Linked DNA regions of Homo sapiens: region 2 is linked to region 1. The links are contacts of gene promoters, found by promoter capture Hi-C in human tissues and cell types (Jung and others, 2019). All regions are on one chromosome and are shown on one strand. Each heading gives the region's core, a stretch centred on a gene start or on the middle of the fragment in contact. The rest is flanking DNA. Distances are from core to core; before and after follow the strand shown. Region 1 holds the start of HSD17B2 (hydroxysteroid 17-beta dehydrogenase 2). Region 2 has its middle 190 kb from the start of MPHOSPH6.

The links. Contacts are between HindIII fragments. The study calls those that stand out against the background at their distance.
Region 2: a fragment that was not itself captured here is called in contact with the fragment with the promoter of HSD17B2 in region 1 in 1 of the 25 tissues and cell types used here (spleen).

Annotation. Positions count from the first base shown.
Region 1 is chr16:82,032,178-82,038,597 of GRCh38, forward strand. HSD17B2 (hydroxysteroid 17-beta dehydrogenase 2) reads left to right here and starts at 3,076. Exons shown (of 5, transcript NM_002153.3): 1 at 3,076-3,512. The coding sequence starts at 3,248. The HindIII fragment of the contact is 4,836 bases long and covers 1-4,783 here.
Region 2 is chr16:82,353,837-82,360,458 of GRCh38, forward strand. No RefSeq gene overlaps it. Among named protein-coding and RNA genes, the nearest start is that of MPHOSPH6, 190 kb to the left of the region's middle. The HindIII fragment of the contact is 5,251 bases long and covers 1-4,898 here.

The DNA of each region.
Region 1 (6,420 bases), core at 1,826-4,325:
ATAGCCTTCCTTTCCACCACCGTGCACCCCCACTAGTCTCTGCTCCTGCAGCAGGCCTCCTGGAAGCACTGCGTCCTCAACTCTGCAAGGCCAGGAACCGGGTCTATATTGTTCACTACTGAATTCCTCCATGGCTGGTGCAGAACTGGCCACCTAGAAGACTCTCAATAGAGATGTGATTCTTCCTATATTTTTCCAACAAATATTAATTATGTACATGTGATGTGCCAGGCACTGGACTGTGCACGTGGTGAACAGTAAAGGAAAAACAATAAACAGATAAGGTTCCTGCCCTCATGAAGTTTATGGTCTAGTAGGGGAGACAGAAAACGTTCTTAAACTGATCAAAGTAAATATATAATTGTGGATTGAGCTAAGCGCAACAAAGGCAATGAATAAAGCGTGCTGATAGGAGATACTCAGATTGGGTGACAGGAGGTGATGTTTAAGCAGATATCTGAAGGATGACAAAGGAAACAGCCGAGTGCTGAACTGAAAGAAGAAATAAATGAGTGAGGAGGTAGCTGTCAAGAACCTCTCTCTCTGCTCAGAGGAAAAAGGCTAAGAGGCAGTGGGTACTCTCAACAATGAGAAAAGTGCCTACCATCCATGAGTGCCTGTAAGTGCCAGGGACGATGCAAGAATGGTGTCATTCACTTTTCAAAACAGCCCTTGGAAGAAAGACTCCTCCTACCGCCAATTTACAGAAGAGGAAACTGAGGCTTAGGAAGGGCAGGTAACTTGCCCAGTGCCTCACAGCTAAGCCAGGATTCGAACTCAATTTAGAAGTCTGTGAGACCCGAAAGCTCATGTTCTTAATACTGTTCAGCCCCTTCACCATCAGGGCTCAGGGAGTATCCTTCATGGGACTTCTGTGTGGCCTGAGGGTGGCTTTTGCTCATAGATTTTACCCTCCCCTTGGGAGCCCCAGGACAGAGTAGGTCTGGGAACTCGCAAGGGCTGCCTCCAGGAGAAAAGCCACCTCTCTCAAGTGGGCGTGCACTTGGCAGGAAGCCTGCGCAGGTGTTTGGCTCAGCCCAAATGTGGGAGCCACTGACCAAATGCCAAGACTCTCAGCGAAGAGCCATAGCTAGTCCTGTCTCCCCACCTGGAAGCTGTTTTTCGAACGGAGCTAACTGCCAGGATGCTCTGGGCTGGTGAGGCCACAAGGATTGTGAGAGGTGCCCTGTGGCTCAGATGGCACCCAGGAAGGAATTGGGGTCTGTTGAGGGAGGGAGAGTTCAGGGCTAGCCAAAGGCAATTCCAGATCCCTGCCCCTAAGCTTCCTGGCCTGGAGCTGGTAACGTCTCCCTGACTCAAATGTCCATGTGGCTGGGAGGGCAGACAACAGTTGCCATCACTCCACGCAGACCCTCATAACTGCCTTGTTGTCCAACCCCACAGTCCCACAGCACAGTAATGGTTCACAAGACACTGCTTCCCACCCCTTCTCCCTTGGGTCTTGAGTTGGCTTTGAGCCCAGGTGGGCTCTGCCTCACCTCCCTTTACAGGGGATACGCTGCTGGGTCCCTTCCTTCCCGAGTCCTGCCTCCCCAACATCATCCACAAAAGGCATCCTCTCCCTTCCTCCTCCTGCCCCTCATTTAACTCCAGCACGTGTTTTGAGACAAGTCTATACTCCACTGGACACTTTGTTTTACACGACTTCCTCTTATTCTTCATTCTCCTCCTGTTTAAAAAACATGAATCACTAGCATTTATGAGGTTCCTTCTACTGTTCCAGGCAGGATATGATATTATTTTATAGCCAAAGGGATGAAGATCTAGGGAGGTGAAGTGACCCTCCCAAGACTATGTAATTAATAAGTAGTGGAGTTAAGATTAGATTTGAATAGAGGGAAACTGACCTCAAATAGAGAATGTTTCTCTCTAGCTATGCCAAAGTCCAGCCTTTATCACAACCTTGCCTCCCTCCAGCCAGGCATGTGGCCCACATGGGGCACGCCCTGAGCCCAGGTGCGGTGACCCCTCTCTGGCTTAGCACGGTTAGGTGGTGCTGTAGTTGCAGAGTGCTGGCTTTTAAGCCGCTTGTGAGTAAGGGATTTATTTTTTCCCAGCCTCAGTTTTTCTCTCTGTAAACTGACCATAATAATAACACCCACCTCAAACAGTTTTATAAGGTTGAAATGGGGTGAAAGTAGGAAAGATCTAGCACATAATGCACTAATTTTTTTTTTTTTTTTTGCCTAAAGCAGGCAGTGGAATAGAATGCTTAGGGGCATACAGCTCTGAGATCAGGCTGCAAGACTCCACTGCTGTGTGATCTTGACTAAGTCTCTTACCCTCTCTGTGTCCTGGTTTCCTCACCTGTAAAATTACTATAATACTAGAATCAACTTCATAAGGATATTGTATTCAAGGAGGATGAGAGGAGTCCCAGTGAATGGAGGCTGGCATAGAATAGGCTTACAATAAAGAGAAAGAACAAATAAGCAGCTATACACAGCCTCTGCCACAAAAAACTACCAATAGATATTAGCCGCTATTAGTTAATTGTCATTATTATCTCTCCCTGGCATGTTTCCACTCAGGCAAGACCAAAGCACTTTCCTCTACCAAGGAATATCTTCCTCTACTTTCATATCCCTCTCCATCCAACCCTTCAGCCTGCCTCAGTTGGGATTTGTAGGAGTCCTGAAGCTATGGACCAGATCAGAGGTGCCTTCCCTTCCAGAATCTATTTTCCAAACTTCATCGATTGCCTATATTTATATGCATGCATGCACACACACGCACACACACACACACACTCTCACTCACTCCCGAGTCAGAAAAAGGACTCAGCACCCAGACATACTGCAGGCTCTTGAAGAAGACAGTATTTTCCTGTGAGCTAGAGGATCTTCCTGTTATTCTCCATGCAGTTCAAATTCTGTCAATTATTATCCAGTTAGTCATCGCTCCAGAGGTGGACTGTCATTAAAAAAAAATAGAAGGTGTGTGTTTGTGGGTGAGTATGTGCATGTGTTGTGTATGCAGGGGGTGGGGAGGGGCGAGAGCGGTCAAATAGGAAGTGCCTTGGTATTTATGTTGAAGTGCACACTGGTTTAAATTACCCACTGGGAATATGATTATGCTTAATCTATGCTCAGTTGAAAGGGGCTGGGGCTGCTTTCTCCCCTCCCTTCTTGACTCTCTGTTCACAGAACTCAGGCTGCCTCCAGCCAGCCTTTGCCCGCTAGACTCACTGGCCCTGAGCACTTGAAGGTGCAGCAAGTCACTGAGAATGAGCACTTTCTTCTCGGACACAGCATGGATCTGCCTGGCTGTCCCCACAGTACTATGTGGGACAGTATTTTGCAAATACAAGAAGAGCTCAGGGCAGCTGTGGAGCTGGATGGTCTGCCTGGCAGGCCTCTGTGCAGTCTGCCTGCTCATCCTGTCCCCTTTTTGGGGCTTGATCCTCTTCTCGGTGTCATGCTTCCTCATGTATACTTACTTATCTGGCCAAGAATTGTTACCTGTGGATCAGAAGGCAGTCCTGGTGACAGGTAAGCAGACGGTGCTACAATTTTCACTGAGGGTATGATCTGAAACTTGCTTTGCCTTAGCAGGACTTTGTCAAATCTGGCTTAAAAATAAAATACTTGGCATGGAGTAAATGAAAGCCCTCACCCAAGTATTTTTCATGACACTGTTTTCGTTCCGTTTTTTCCAGGAGGTGCATTTGAAGGGGCTGGTAGTGGGAGGGAAGGAGAGGATGAAGTGCACCCAGACAATGATTTTGTTAAAATTTCCCAGGAATAAATATTAATAGGCAAAATGGCAATATTTCATGTGTTCTATTGTACCCAGGAATGTCCCATAGATTGTTTTTTAGGCTTAAATGGACTTTTGTTCTGACATCATTGTTTGGCCAGGTTCTCCACCTGGACTCTTCTTCCCTAGGTATGCAAGAACGCTTACAAGCCAAGTTCTACTTGTCCCTTGCTGTTTTGAAATATTGAAGGGATTCACTTACCTGGGCTGGAGACTTTGCAGTTTGCTTGGCTGCTGTCAAGAACCTTGTGTCCTGTCTGAACTGTTCCTCATTAGACCTCTAATGTTTCTTAATTGGACCAACTTGGCATCGTGTCCAACATTCAGTTGCCTGTTAGCTGAGCTGCCAGTTTTTCCCTTGTTTGTGTGTGTGTGTGTGTGTGTGTGTGTGTGTGTGTGTGTGTGTTTCCCCATTGCAAGTGTGAGGCCAAATTAAATTTCTTTGAGTTGTAAAATTTTTGCTTGGTTATGGAGTTTAAGCTTGGATAGGGCTGTAATTAGGATTATCCAGCGTTATCCTAACCCAGAAAGCCCTACCAAATAAAAAAAAAATCAGCTGTGGAATCATTTGGGGGAGATCATCACCCCTCTGACCATGATCCTCAGGGTGAAGGCAAGAATGGCATGGGGATGTGGTTGGGAGAAAATCTGGGGCTTGACAATTTGCAGAGAAACAGACTTTGTTTTTGGGTTAAAGTAAAATGCTTTCTTGAAACAAAATGCAAATTGGTGCTTGTTGGGGTTAGACAAGCCACAGAAAAGAAGCTTCTTTAAATTAATTTTTGAAAGTTTAGAGGGAGAAAATTCAGTCAATGGGATGTTTATCTGCAAGAATGTCTGATATCACCTGGAATCATGTATCTGGGAGTCTGGCTGGATTTTCCACTTTTTTATTAGAATTCTCAAATGGCTTATCGGTGAAATTTGTAAGAGAGTCTCAATTTTCCTGTTCTGTGTCCTGTTCTGTTATGAAACCTTAGGATGAGCTCAGGCAAACCACAGGGTAGCTGAGAAAATGGGAATCCCTTCTTGCTTGTTTATTTTGTCAACATTCTTTATCCTCTGCATTTCAAGATGCAGGTGTTAATTAATGCTCACAAAATATGCACCCAACTCAGTGAGCCCACATCAGCCACTGAAAGGTGCCGTGCATTTAGTGTTGAGTGAGGATGATTGAATCAATTAGGCAACTCAAGCTCAAGGACTAATCCCTGCATGAAATGCTTATGGCAATGAAGAAAGCTTAGAATTAAGATGAGCACTACATATATTTAAGGATGACTGAAATGTCACTTTCACGTTCTTTGTTATTTTCAAGTTCTCTGTCATTTTTATGAGGAATGCTATGTGCTCATATCATCCTAGACAAGGCCTCAAGACCTTTGTATGAAATCGAGAAATTTAAAATGAATTCATTTTGTTAGACCACAACTCTTTAAAGAATGAAGAAGCCACGCTGAGTTTGGAATAACCTTTGTTCCAGATTGGCTTATGATAACATAGATTAGCACGCATTGTGGTGGGGCAGGACCAAAGAAAAATGTGGCAGTGTACATCAAAACCATACATATGGTTCCTTTATCTGATAATTCAAGTCTTGGAAATTTATTTTGAAGACATAATCTGAAATATGAAAAAAAGAGTAGAAGCAAAACCAAAATGGCACATTCAACACAATCTTATTATTTAATTTAGATTAATATTAAATATCAAAAGCAACAAAAAGGGTGATAATATATGGTACATCCTCTGGGTATAACAATGTGCAACCATTAAAAATGACAGCCACAAGGACTGTGTTACATGGAAAACTGCTTGGGCCAAAGGAAAACACACAGGAAATCCCAGGGTTGGAACAAGTCTACAGCCACGTCAAATGCATAGATTCCTGGGCTGGGCAAAAAGCTGTGATAACAGCTGGAAGAAATAGTTTGTATATGGTTGGATTAGTGTGCTGGAAATAGTTTGTAAATGAAAGGAAATAGTTTATAAAGGAAATAGTTGGTTAATGGTTGGATTAGACTATTTACGTGTTATTTTCTCTCCTGGATTTCAAATTTCTCTGGTGTGATTACATTACTCATACAATAAAAATACTTAAAAGAGAACACAAAACAGCTAAAGCTCCTTTTAGTTTGTATTTAATTTTGGACCCAGGTGAGAGGCAATTACAAAGACAAATTTAAAAAAATGACTTTTTTCTCCCCTTTGAGCCCTTTATTTCATTTTGCTAAGATGTTCAAAAGTCTGTTGCCTCAGAGACAATATAATTACAGTAAGAAAAAGTAAGCAAGCATAGAGTGTTTGAATACATATTTGTCTTCAAGATACCTGAAACCACAGAGGCCATTCAAATATTTAAAATGTATGTGTGATGCATTTTATTTTATTTTATTTCATTTTATTTTTTGAGATGGGGTCTCAATCTGTTGCCCAGGCTGGAGTGCAGTGGCATGATCTCAGCTCACTGCAACCTCTGCCTCCCGGGTTCAAGTGATTCTCCTGCCTCAGCCTCTCAAGTAGCTGGGATTACAGGCACGTGCTACCACGTTGGGCTAATTTTTGTATTTTTAGTAGAGACAGGGTTGTATGATGCATTTTAAATGTATAACTGTAAAATGAACAAAGAGCAGACCAACA
Region 2 (6,622 bases), core at 1,023-3,522, 320 kb after region 1:
ACAAGTTGGCTAACTGTTTGGCAGAAGAGATCTAGCAGCACCAAGACTTGAAGACAGGTCTATAGAGCTTCAAACTGAAGCAACAGAAGGAAAAAAGAAAAATGAAAGTTTAACAGAACTTCAAAGGCAGTGTTAAATGGTGAAGCAAACTTTTTTTCAGAGTGTCTGTTGGAGAGAATGACAGATAAATATGTGAAAAAATATGGACTGAAATTTTCAAAATTGGATCAAAAATAGTAACCCATTGCTATAAGAAAAGCTCAGAGAGCCCCAAGTAGGATAAAAAGAAAAAAACAAAACCTGAAACAAAACTACATTATAGTCAAGTTGACAAAAAGAAAAGCTAAGGAGAAAATGTTAAAATCAGCTAGAGGAGAAATCAATGCACATTGGATACACAGGGGAACAATATAAGAATGGAAACTGACTTCTCATTGGATACAATGGAGACCAAAGACAATGGAATATCTTTAGTCTCCATTGAATTTTTTTTTTTTTTTTACTTTTTAAAGAATTGAAAGAAAATAAAAAAATCTCAACATAGAATTCTGCATCCAGCATTAATATACTTAATAATGAAGTCAAATTAAAGACATTTTTAAATGAGGAAGAGTTGAAAGAATGTTTTGCCAGCATATTTGCACTGCAGGAAATGCTGAAAGATGTTCTTCAAGCTAAGGGGAAATGATAACAGAAGGGAACCCAGGTCTACAATAAAAACTGAAGACCCTGAGAAAGCATAACTATTTAGGCAAGCCAAAAATCTAATTTTAGAAATTATTTTTTTAATGCATATCCATCATATAGTTAAACTATAAAAGACTACTGGATGTTTAATGCAAAAATAATAATTATGTAGAATCTCTAATGTAAGTGGAAGAAAAGGATATGTGAAAATAGCACAAAGGATGAAAACGGATAAATTATGCTATCGTAAGAGTGCCCCATTGTGCATGAAATGCCATAGTATTATTTTAAGTTAGACCGTGATAAGTTAACCTTACATATTAGAGTGTACTGCTTAATAGAGTATCTACTGGCCATCTGTGGCAATTAAGCCCTTGAAATGTGGCTGGTGATACTGAGGAAGTACATTTATAATTTTAATTAATTTAAATTTATGTTAAAAACTGACACAGTGTAACTATCCTCTGTTGAAACACAATGTGGTTGCTCTGGTAGGCCTATCTTTAACTTTAACTGTTGTGATATGCTGTAGGTATAAAATTTATGTCAAATTGCAAAGACAATGTAAATGTACTTTTAGAAGACAAAATATCTCATTAATACTTTTATATTTGTTACATATTGAAATGATAATATTTTGGGTATATTGGGTTAAATGAAATACATTATCAAATTAATATCATCTGTTTTTTAAACTTTGCTAGGAAGTTTAGATATTCTGTAAATATATATATGTGGGTCACATTGTAATTAGGCAGCATTGCTCTAGAGGATTACTAAAATTATAGCATGAAATGATATAACTAAATAGTCAAATAAAGGAGAGAAATTGGAATGCTAAAAAATACCCATTTTTTCCAAAATAATGGAGGAAAAAAGGAACAAAGGAACAGTTGGAATAAACGGAGTAAATGAAATTAATGGAAAACAAATACCCAAATGATGAACTTAAACATAATTTTACCACAAGCTGCATGAAATATAAATAAATAAAATACTTCATTTTGTCAGATTGGATAAAATGTGAGACTAACCAGTATGCCATTCGTGAGAGAAACAGTTTAAAGACACAGAATTAAGGCAACAGGATGGAAGATGATTGTATTAGTCTGTTTTCACACTGCTATAACGAAATACCTGAGACTGGGTAATTTATAAGGAAAAGAAGTTTAATCAACTCACAGTTCTATATGGCTGGGGAGGCCTCAGGAAACTTACAGTCATGACAGAAGTGGAAGAAAACATGTCCTTCTTCACAAGGTGGAAGGGGAGAGAAGCGCAGAGTGAAGGGGAAAGAGCCCCTTATAAAACCATCAGATCTCATGAGAACTCACTCACTATCAGGAGAACAGCATGGGGGAAACCACCCTGCTGATCCAATCACCTCCTACAAGGCTCCTCCCCCAACATGTAGAGACTACAATTCGAATTACAATTCAAGATGAAATTTGGGTGAGGACACAGCCAGTTGATAGCAAGCTTAAGAAAACTGATGTGGTTATATATAAATAGTAGACAAAATAGACATCAAAACAGAGAAGAAGTAACAGAAATAAAGAAGTGTACTTCATATTAGTCAGTTTGTCAGGAAGATAACACAGTTCCCATATTTGTAGGCACGTAGTAAAAGAGCTACAAACTACATAAAGCAACAAATTATCTAAGTAAAGTGATATATAGAAAAATCCCGAATCACACTGGGACCTATTATCATTGTATTTTCAGTAATTTATAGAAAAGTAGAATAAGTAAACTTCACAAATGCTGTAAGAGAAGTGATGTAGAATGAAGAGGGATGGAATTTGCAAATTGAGATATTCTCAGAGGTCACCAGCCACTATCATTTTAAAATTCTAAGGACTTATTTTGTTAGTGTAACTTACATTGTTTTAGCTTTTGTGATAATTGCATATTGATCTTAAGCTTTTATGATCAGCAAATATTTCTAATTTCTTTTTCCATGTGCTCTGTTAAACCATATTTGTACCAATTATATTGGGGAAAACAGTTTGAAAAGAACAAATTTTGTTATTACTATTTGCAGTTTGGATTATATTTTTCCTGATTAGTGTCTGTGTACTTAAATATAAGTATCTAGAAATAATTTATAAATATAATTCCTCAATACCCTTTTAATGCTTACAGAATATCTTAGAGATCTTTTAATGTGACTATACAATGATGTATCGCCATTTTATTGTATCTCCTAGTGTGGATGCTTTATAATTTGCTTAGCAATTTATCTGTAATTGGATCATTAGGTTATTTCTAGATTTTCACAGTAACAAACAATGTTGCAATGAAAATGCGTTTCGCACTTTTTTACATAGGTATATGTATTTTTCCCTAGGGTTGATCGCAGCAGAGTGGAATGGTATATACAATTTAAAGTTTCTTACTTATGCCCAAATTTTTTCACAAAACTACTTTAAAAATTTGTGCTCCTATAAATAGAGTGCAAGAACAACATCAACCTTTTCCTAATCTTACGGTGATTTGGGACATTTTTTCATGTATTTGCAGGCTGTTTGATTGAATGCCCTTTTCTGTGAATTACTTGTTCTTATCCTTTGCTCACTTTTCTATTGCATTGCTTGCCTTTTTCTTATTCATTTGAGGGAGATTTTTAAATGTGCATTTGATAATCAACCTTTGTTGTATGCATGAGGAATATTTTCTCCATGCCTGTTTCTTGTCCTTAACATATTTATTAGAAATTTCATGTTGGTAGTGTCGTCGTTGCCCTGTATCTTTTCAGCTTTGTCTCCCGTGACTGCTCATGGGATTTTCTGAGCACTTGCGTGTAGAAGGTGCTCAGAAAGCAAATGGCTTTCTCTGGGCATCCCCTTGCTTCTTTGCACCATGTGTTAAAGGCAAATGTTGGCTGAGTTGAGTCAGTGTTTCTGCATTTAGTGATGTTTTAATTAGAGCAATTGGCTTGACTCAAGCCTGTTGACATCTGCTGATTGCTGGCTGGTCAGTAACATTTACCATAGAAAGTGATGGCCATGGATCCCCTTCCCTCCTCTGGGAGGGGTGGATGCCCAGTCTTTCCAGCTCTGTGTGGCATCCTCAAGCTCTGACAGTTGTTGGCTCCATGCAGTCCTCACTAACTAGAGACTCGGGTTCATCTGCCTGTTCTACCCCACATGGATCCCTTTAAAAGAGAGTGACCATCAGAACTTGGCACCTTGGGATACCAATTTTAGCTTTTGGCAGAAGTCTCAGAAAGTCTTAGTCTTTAAAACTAAGTGGTCTTCTTGGAAAGATCTCAAACTTGGCCCTGTTGGACACTGCAGACACATACAAAACAACTGTTTGTTCAAACAGAAAATGGGGAAACATTACAGAATCTGAAATATGCCGCTATTTAATTTCTAAAATATTTTTATATACAATAAATTCATGAACACATGCTCATGTTAAAAGGTAACACCAGAATGAAAAAGAAGTCTCATGCCATTCTTGCCTCATCAAGCCTATGCCTCTCTCCAGATGTAACCACAGGTCAAAGTCAGGTCGCATCTTTCTAGACACAAGTGCTCTTTAAACAGTGCTCATGTTATACCTATTGTTCTGTAGCTTCATGCTTCACACTTCTTTCATGTGGTCTTTCATAAGTGACTTACATTTCCATGCATTAGACCTTTCCCTTGCCATCTGGGGATGGGTTTAGTCAGAGGGACAGGCCAGTCACAGGTGTCACATACTATAGTGTGTGCAATGTGGAGGGAAGCAGGGGATGGCAAGAGATATATAACCTTTGGCTGAGAAGAGAAGTGGGACAGTGAGGACCTCCTCGAGCAACTGACATATGGGTGATCCCTGACAGACATATGGGAAGTGGTTGTGGTAGGCTGATCACGGGTTCCACAAAAGATACCCAGGTGCTAACCCCTCAGAACTTGTGAATGTTACCGTATATGGCAAGAAGGGCTTGCAGTTGTGATTAAATAAGGATCTTGAGATGGGGAGGTTATCCTGGATTACCTACATGCAATCACAAGTGTCCTTATAAGAAGAAGAAGGGAGATTTGAGATAAAAGAAGGGAATGTGACCACTGAAGCAAAATGCTTGGCTACTTTGAAGATGGAGGAAGGGACCAGGAGCCAAGGAATGCAAAGGATGCTGCTCTAAAATTTGGAAAAGGCAAAAAAGAAAAAGAAAGAAAGAGAGAAAGGGAGGAAGGGAGGAAGGAAGGGAGGAAGGAAGGAAGGAAGGAGTCTTCGAGCTTCTGGCGAGAACACAGCCCTGCCAACACCTTCGTTTCAGCCCGGTGAAACCAGTTCTTCCAGAACTGTAAGAAAATACGTAAATACACAAGCCATCACATTTGTTGTCACTGGCTAGAGTGGCTTGGAAACTAATAATAGCCAAGTAGAGAAATTCATTTAAAAGAATAATCCTGTAAGTTTTCTGGTAAGAGAACAGGAACTACTCTTTAACACGTGTTGGAGCAAAGTGAGGGATAAAGCAAAGAGACTGTAGACTGGCGATGTAAACAGGGGCCAGATCACACAGAGCCTGCAGGGCACACCCAGCAGGTTTATCTTCTATTGACAGCAACAGGGAGCAAGAGAAGGCTTTTGAGCAGGGGAACAAGCAGACTGTAGTATTGGGGAGATCACCAGTAGACTCTCCTTGAGGCTGTTACAAAAGAAGAAACAGAATTTGGTCACCTAGATGGCAACTCTTGGTTTTCCTACTTTTTTTTTGTTTGTTTGTTTTTTTTTTTTTTTTGAGACAGAGTCTTAATGTGTCACCCTGGCTGGAGTGCAGTGGTGCGATCTCGGCTCACTGCAACACCTGCCTCCCAGGCTCAAGCGATTCTCATGCCTCAGCCTCCTGAGTAGCTGAGACTACAGGTGCATGCCACCAGGCCTAGCTAATGTGTGTGTGTGTGTGTGTGTGTGTGTGTGTGTGTGTGTGTATGTGTTGTGTGTGTGTGTATTTTTAGTAGAGATGGGGTTTTGCCACATTGCCCAGGCTGATCTCGAACTCCTGAGCTCAGGGCAGTCTGCCTGCCTCAGCCTCCCAAGGTATTAGGATTACAGGTGTGAGCCATTGTGCTTGGCCCATTTTCCTACCTTTTTACTCCCATTGCATTAAACGTTTCCCCATTCCATCCAAAACTGAGTTCCCTCTCCATCCTAAAAAGAACTGAGCTCTGCTGGGCACGGTGGCTCACGCCTGCAATCCCAGCACTTTGGGAGGCCGAGATGGGCGGATCACGAGGTCAGGAGTATGAGACCAGCCTGGCCAACATGATGCAACCCCATCTCCACTAAAAATACAAAAATTAGCTGGGTGTGGTGGTGGACACCTGTAGTCTCAGCTACTTGGGAGGCTGAGGCAGGAGAATTGCTTGAACCCAGGAGGCAGAGGTTGCAGTGAGCTGAGATCATGCCATTGCACTCCAGCCTGGGCGACAGGGCGAGACTCCATCTCAAAAACAACAACAACAAAAAACAACAAAAAAACCCCAGCTCTCCTGGGATAAAACTAGATAACTAGTTTCAAGGCTGTGGGTAGGTCATTCCTTTTTGGGTTTCCAGGGTGGCTGTTTGAGTAGTAGTAAAAAGAGGGAGCTTTCTGAGCTGGCTGTGGACCAAAGCAGGCTAGAAAGAGGCAACAGAGTTGAAAGCACTTTACTTCATCTAATCTAGACCCATGATGTCCCTGAGCCAGCTGCTGACTGAGGACAAGGGGGTAGAGAGACATGTCCCCATTCCCAAGGCCCAGAGGATGGCAGTCTATCACTGGTGCTCAGACTCCCTTTCAGGGCTGGAGTCCTGAATAGAAAAAGCACTCCAGGTATCACTGTTCTGTAAGAATTGTAGTTTTGCCCCTAGGAAATTTCTGAATCTCTATAATGATTAAAGCAGACAGTCACCAAATCACTCTGTAGGGGAGAAAGATAAAGATAGCCTTCAG